2 separate regions of the Homo sapiens genome follow, and region 2 is linked to region 1. The links are contacts of gene promoters, found by promoter capture Hi-C in human tissues and cell types (Jung and others, 2019). All regions are on one chromosome and are shown on one strand. Each heading gives the region's core, a stretch centred on a gene start or on the middle of the fragment in contact. The rest is flanking DNA. Distances are from core to core; before and after follow the strand shown. Region 1 holds the start of SLC6A3 (solute carrier family 6 member 3). Region 2 overlaps SLC6A3 (solute carrier family 6 member 3).

Evidence for each region. The method cuts DNA at HindIII sites, captures the fragments that hold promoters and counts their contacts. A contact is called where the count stands out against the background at its distance.
Region 2: a contact is called between a fragment that was not itself captured here and the fragment with the promoter of SLC6A3 in region 1, in 1 of the 25 tissues and cell types used here (stomach).

What each region holds. Positions count from the first base shown.
Region 1 is chr5:1,443,437-1,446,992 of GRCh38, reverse strand. It overlaps SLC6A3 (solute carrier family 6 member 3), which reads left to right and starts at 1,553. Exons shown (of 15, transcript NM_001044.5): 1 at 1,553-1,645. RefSeq lists an enhancer at 416-915. The HindIII fragment of the contact is 20,714 bases long and covers 1-3,556 here.
Region 2 is chr5:1,390,861-1,394,416 of GRCh38, reverse strand. It overlaps SLC6A3 (solute carrier family 6 member 3), which reads left to right. Exons shown (of 15, transcript NM_001044.5): 15 at 1-1,623. Among named protein-coding and RNA genes, the nearest start is that of LINC01511, 13 kb to the right of the region's middle. The HindIII fragment of the contact is 8,724 bases long and covers 1-3,556 here.

The sequences.
Region 1 (3,556 bases), core at 304-2,803:
CTGGCGATGAAGTCCCACCCCTGATGGGAGGTGGTGTCAGGAGGCCTTCAGGTGGTCAGGCCAGGAGGGCTCCACCCTGAGGAATGGGACCAGTGCCCTCATAAAACAGACCCCGGAGAGCTCTCCCCAGCCCCTAGCGTGGGGAGATACAGGGAGAGAACTGTCTGCAACCCCGAAGCGGCCCTCACCAGACACAGAGTCGGCCAGGCCTTGGCCTCGGGACACCGGAACCGTTAGAACTGAAGGCTTCTGTGTGAGCCCCCAGGCTGTGGAGTTTTTTGTCATGGCAGCCCCAGGGGGTCACTAGGCTCCCACTTGATTCCAACTCAGCGTGAAGTCACAGCCCTGAGTGCCTTCTGCCTGGGTGCCAGCCCCGGAGCCGGGGAGCGGGGGAGCGGGGGGCGGGGAGGGGAGTGGTGGTGTGCGGGGAGTGCGGGGCGGGCGCAGGGGGTGGGGCACCGCGCTGCGGGCGGGTACTGCGGAGTCAGGCACCAAGGGTCCCTGCCTCCCTCACTGCTGAGCGCGGGCTGCAGGCTGGAATGGCTGGAGAGCCCCAGGGCTCGCCTGGACGCCCAGGGCAGGGTGCTCACGGGAGCATCGAGGGTACACGGGGAGGAACGCCGGGGTTCGGGCGACCCTAGGGGCGACGCACAGAGCTGGGCGCGGCCACTCACCTCGGTGCCTTCTAAGGACCTGGACATCCTGGGCCTTGGCGGCCTGGGGGCTCCATTCCTCCGCGCGCTGAATGGAAGAAATCCCGCCCGGGCATCTCGGAAGGAAAGCCTCGGAGTCCATTCGGCCCTGGAGCCGGATACCAACCGCCAGGGCTTTCCAGGCCCGTCCCGGGAAATGGTTTTCTTAGGCGAGTGCGAGGCGGGCCCCTCGGTTCCGATGCAGGCGCACTAGATGCCGGCAAGGCGGGGACTAGGCCTAGGGGACCTCGGTCGCCTCGAGGTCGCGGAGACCCCAAGGCCACGGAAGGACCCGCGTCTCCGCAGCCCGCACGCCGGGAAGCGTGCAGAGTCCTCGGCGGGGTCCCGAGCCCGCTGGTCAGAGCGTGGAGCGGCGGGGTGGGAGGGACGTGGTCCCCAGAGCGCGGGGCCACCGTAGGGGCCCCTGATGGGGAGGGAGGGAAGGGTCGGCCCGACGGGGTCCCAGCAGTTCCCCGCGCGCAGCCGCTCGGCTCCCTCCCCGTCCAGCTGGGAGCCGCCAGCCCTGGGCGTCCGAAGATAGCGGGTGCCCGGGGCAGCCCCCAGGGGTGCGGGCGAGGGCGCAGGGCGGCCCAGACAGTTCCCGCGTGGAAGGCGCCCGTCTAGATCCGCGACGTCTCGGACCCCCAGGCCCCCGCACCCCGTGTCCGAGGCTCCGGGACGCGCAGGACAGTGGAGCCGTGGCCGCCGCTTGCTCCCAGCCATCTGCGTCCGGGAGGCGGGGGCGGGGGCGCGGCCCGGGGAGGTGAGGAGGAGGAGCCAGGACGCGAGGGCGACCCCGTCGGCGGGAGGGCGGGGCGGGGCGGACCCTGTCTACTGGATAAGAGCCCGAGGCCGAGGCTGAGACCGCCCAGCGCTGCGGAGCGGGAGGGGAGGCTTCGCGGAACGCTCTCGGCGCCAGGACTCGCGTGCAAAGCCCAGGCCCGGGCGGCCAGGTGAGGCCAGCGTCGCTCGCGGCATCGGGGCGCCCCGCTCCTTCCGCAGACCCCGAAGTGGGGCGCAGGGGCGGGGGCCGGGGACCGGGCACAGTCTGGGGTCCCCGCGTCCCGCAGACCGCGCCGTCTCCAAAGTCGCCAACAGTCGCGGGTGCCGAGCGCCCCCCGATAGCGCCACATGGGACCCTGAGGCCGTCCGAGGCGCGAGGAGGGTGCAGGGCTGCCCCTGGCCCCGCTCCAGGCTCAGAACCGGGTGGGCACCTGGTGCAGTCACCGGCTTAGGGGACGCGTGGGTGTCTATGGCTGTGACTCGGGGGTCCTGGTTTCTTCTCGTGGAACTTAACCCTACTAGGGGTGCGGCGCATCCCAGATCCGATCGGAGTGGGTTTTGTACACCGCCGCTCCATCTCGCGGGGGCTTTGTCTGTGTTGGGGGTGGTGGCGGGCGCGGGCTGCGCGCTGGTGCTCTGGGCAGGGCGGGGAGGCCGGGCGAGGACTCGCCAGGCAGCGCCGCTTCTTGTTCTGGGCGCGGTGAGGAAGGACGCTTTCTAACGGGCCACATTTTGCTGTGTAGACCCAAAACTCGCCTCTGAGGCCCCGCGTTCAGGAGCGGGGTCAGGTGGCCCCAGGGCGGCGGCGGCTTGCCGGAGACTCGCGAGCTCCGCACCCGACGCCCTCTCCCAACGCGGCCTCCTGCTCGCGCCGCGGAACCCCTTCGTCGGGTGTTTTACCCACCGGAGGGGTCGTGCCGGTTGAGGTTGTCACCGGGTGCGTGGCATAGCTCGTGATAGCTCATGGGTGAGGTTTTGTGCAAACTTGGATGCAGGGAAAGTTGCCTGTTAGAGCCTCCACCTGCGACCTGCTTCAGTCGTTGTGTGTGTGTGCGCACCTGTGTGAGTGTGAGTGTGTATGTGTGTAAGTGTATGTGCTCGCCTGTGTGTGTGTGAGTGTGTATGTGTGTTTGTGAGTCTGTGTGTGTCTGTGTGTCTGTGTGTGCGTGCGCTCGACTGAAACACGCTGCTGCTGGATCCAAATGACAGAAGTCGCCCTGGCTGGGGCGGTGTAGACGCTCCTGCTCTCCTGCTCAGCGTTGCAGGGGGGTTTATGTAGCCGTTTGGACAGGATTTCCCGGGTTACCCTGCTGGCCCAGGAGCTAGTTCCCGCGATGAAGCCCTGTCCATCCTCCGCCCAGCTCTCTCACGCGGGGTGGTGCCACCTGCCCTAGGTGGATGTGGCTTGTACAGACACTTTTTGAGGAAGCAGTTGTGATGGTTATGTCTAAACTCTCTTTACAGTGGCTGATTTTGCTTATATAAATTTTGCTCTTTATTACTGAGTATAAACAATACAAGCCCAGGCTTGGTGGCTCATGCCTGTCATCTCAGCACTTTGGGAGGCTGAGGCAGGAGGATCGCTTGAGACCAGGAGTTCAAAACCAGCCTTGGCAACAATAGTCAGACCCTGTCTCTACAAAAAAACAACAACAACAACAAAAAAACACACACAAAAATAACTTAGCCGGTGCTGTGGTGCACACCTGTAGTCTCAGCTGCTCAGGAGGCTGAGGTGCAAGGATCACTTGAACCTAGGAGGTTGAGGCAGTGAGTTGTAATCACAACTGTATTCCATCCTGGGTGACAGAGCGAGACCTCATGTTAAAAAAGAAAAAAAAAAGAAAAAAGAATACAGATGAACAGTCATGAAGACATTATTGAATGCTCTTAGAAGATTGTAAAATTGCTCTCTGGAAGTGTGGGGGAAGGTGGAAGTGATATCCATGCATTGTTAGTAGAAAGCCACGCTAGAGCTCACACAGCCTTGCACTTTGATAGGAGTGGGGAGGGGTGCAGGGGAAGGAGGAGCAAACCAGAGTGTCTGTCTTGAGGCCTCCATGGGCCAGTGCCCCAGCCCT
Region 2 (3,556 bases), core at 1-2,500, 52 kb after region 1:
CCTGCTCCCGGCTCTGAGGCTGCCCCAGGGGCACTGTGTTCTCAGGCGGGGATCACGATCCTTGTAGACGCACCTGCTGAGAATCCCCGTGCTCACAGTAGCTTCCTAGACCATTTACTTTGCCCATATTAAAAAGCCAAGTGTCCTGCTTGGTTTAGCTGTGCAGAAGGTGAAATGGAGGAAACCACAAATTCATGCAAAGTCCTTTCCCGATGCGTGGCTCCCAGCAGAGGCCGTAAATTGAGCGTTCAGTTGACACATTGCACACACAGTCTGTTCAGAGGCATTGGAGGATGGGGGTCCTGGTATGTCTCACCAGGAAATTCTGTTTATGTTCTTGCAGCAGAGAGAAATAAAACTCCTTGAAACCAGCTCAGGCTACTGCCACTCAGGCAGCCTGTGGGTCCTTGCGGTGTAGGGAACGGCCTGAGAGGAGCGTGTCCTATCCCCGGACGCATGCAGGGCCCCCACAGGAGCGTGTCCTATCCCCGGACGCATGCAGGGCCCCCACAGGAGCATGTCCTATCCCTGGACGCATGCAGGGCCCCCACAGGAGCGTGTACTACCCCAGAACGCATGCAGGGCCCCCACAGGAGCGTGTACTACCCCAGGACGCATGCAGGGCCCCCACTGGAGCGTGTACTACCCCAGGACGCATGCAGGGCCCCCACAGGAGCGTGTCCTATCCCCGGACCGGACGCATGCAGGGCCCCCACAGGAGCGTGTACTACCCCAGGACGCATGCAGGGCCCCCACAGGAGCGTGTACTACCCCAGGATGCATGCAGGGCCCCCACAGGAGCGTGTACTACCCCAGGACGCATGCAGGGCCCCCATGCAGGCAGCCTGCAGACCACACTCTGCCTGGCCTTGAGCCGTGACCTCCAGGAAGGGACCCCACTGGAATTTTATTTCTCTCAGGTGCGTGCCACATCAATAACAACAGTTTTTATGTTTGCGAATGGCTTTTTAAAATCATATTTACCTGTGAATCAAAACAAATTCAAGAATGCAGTATCCGCGAGCCTGCTTGCTGATATTGCAGTTTTTGTTTACAAGAATAATTAGCAATACTGAGTGAAGGATGTTGGCCAAAAGCTGCTTTCCATGGCACACTGCCCTCTGCCACTGACAGGAAAGTGGATGCCATAGTTTGAATTCATGCCTCAAGTCGGTGGGCCTGCCTACGTGCTGCCCGAGGGCAGGGGCCGTGCAGGGCCAGTCATGGCTGTCCCCTGCAAGTGGACGTGGGCTCCAGGGACTGGAGTGTAATGCTCGGTGGGAGCCGTCAGCCTGTGAACTGCCAGGCAGCTGCAGTTAGCACAGAGGATGGCTTCCCCATTGCCTTCTGGGGAGGGACACAGAGGACGGCTTCCCCATCGCCTTCTGGCCGCTGCAGTCAGCACAGAGAGCGGCTTCCCCATTGCCTTCTGGGGAGGGACACAGAGGACAGCTTCCCCATCGCCTTCTGGCTGCTGCAGTCAGCACAGAGAGCGGCTTCCCCATCGCCTTCTGGGGAGGGGCTCCGTGTAGCAACCCAGGTGTTGTCCGTGTCTGTTGACCAATCTCTATTCAGCATCGTGTGGGTCCCTAAGCACAATAAAAGACATCCACAATGGAAAAACTGCCTCAGCCTCCTTGTCTCGTTTCCGCTGGGCCCCATCCATTTACACAGGCCCAGCTCACCTGCTCACACCCCGAGGTCAGCTTCTGCCCCACCCCAGCCCACCCACAGCAAAGCTTCCTCACCTGATGCCTCTTGGCCCATCTCTCCTTCCGGCCTCCCCTAAAGCCTAGACGTTAGAGATAACACATCCACTACGCTCCCATGCAGGTGTGCTGGGTGTGACCTGTCGCCCTCCCCAGGCTCCCACGCAGGTGTGCTGGGTGTGACCTGTCCCCCCTCCCCAGGCTCCCACGCAGGTGTGCTGGGTGTGACCTGTCCCCCTCCCCAGGCTCCCACGCAGGTGTGCTGGGTGTGATCTGTTTCCCCTTCCCTGGGCTCCCACACAGTGTTGGGTGCAGTGGTGACCCTCACCCACGTCTGCACTCCTGCAGGGTCCCCTGTGGCAGGTTGTGGCACCTTATGTCGTGCCCACTTGCTCAGGCTGGACCTCCGTGCCATCCTGCACCGCTCTCCCCCAGCCCCTCACCTGCCTTTCAGCATTCTTGTGGGCTCCCCACATGTCCAGACTCCAACCACACTGCCTGACCACTGCCACTGCCCAACCCAAGAGCCTCTTCCAAGCCCCATCCCAGATCTTGGTGGGTCCTGGTCCTCAGTCCAAGCATCTTTCGTCGCTCTGTGGCCTAAAGGATTCTTCTAGATACCAACAGATCAGGCCACAGCCCAAGGAAACCCCAGGGTTATCCTGGTGCTTGGAGTAAATGCCAATGCCCTCAGCATGACCTGTGATAGGATGGCAGCACCCCTTCCAGGCAGTGACCTGTGATAAGACAAGCGTCACTCCCGCCAGCCCCACCTGCAGCCCTGCCCCGAACTGCCTGAGGGCACACCCCACACCGAGGGCTTTGTGCCTGGCAGCACATGGGGACACTGCTACTGCTGCATCGTAGCACGTGGCTGCGTGTGGACAGGAAGGACGCTCGCACCTTTCAGCTGGGTCAGTGAACTCTGTGGCAGGAAAAGTGCTGGGCTGCCTACAAGGGCTGAACCTGCCTGCAGCCTAACTAGTGCCTCCCACCGTCCCCATCGTCACATAGGATGTCCCTTACCCTCAGGGGTGGCTACACCCCGCCTGCTACAGGTGCCGCCCTAACAGCTCACACCTGGAGCCCCCAGGTGTGATCCCTGCTGACCACTCAGGTCTGGGGTCCAGGCAGATACTGTGTGGGTGGCCATAAGTCACTATGTGGGCTGAGACTTGAAGGACTCCGACAGCCTCATGGGCGACTGTATTAAGCCCCAGCAATCGGAGAGGTGGGCTCCGGGGCTGGGTGGGTCTCCTCTGCCAGGTGGGTCTCCTCTGCCTGTGGTCCCAGCAGCTCGGCAGCAGGGGCCGGCCCAGATGGCCGTTGGTCACAGAGACAGCTGGGCTTTGCTGAGTGCGTCGTGGTCCAGCCTAGGCCCATGCCACTGAAGCCTTTCTCAGAGGTGTGGGGTCTGCAGGGACCGGTCACATGTGAGCCCAGGATCAGGGCATTGGGGGAAGAACCAGCTGAGGACATTCCCCAGCCCCAAAACAAAGGCACGGCAGTCCTCGAGCAGGGAGGAGTGAGGAGCCACATGTGGGATCCCGCCTCTCTGGCGTGTGAGCTGTGGATGGCATCTGGTACCAGCCCCATGCCCGCTGGCCGCTGGCGAGCTTGCAGGCTCTGCAGGCAACCGGAACAGCATACTGCAGGTGCACACGGGGTCCTCGTGCCGAGTGATTTACTCAGGGAGTGCCTGAGGGAGCAGGTGAGGGAGGGGCACTTACACCCTGAATGTAGAAGGAACTCCACAAGTCCATAGGGAAGAGGCAGACACCCCATCAGAAAAGTGGACAGAGACCTTGAATGACTGCCAGCAAGGGAAAGTGCCCAAGTGGCCAACA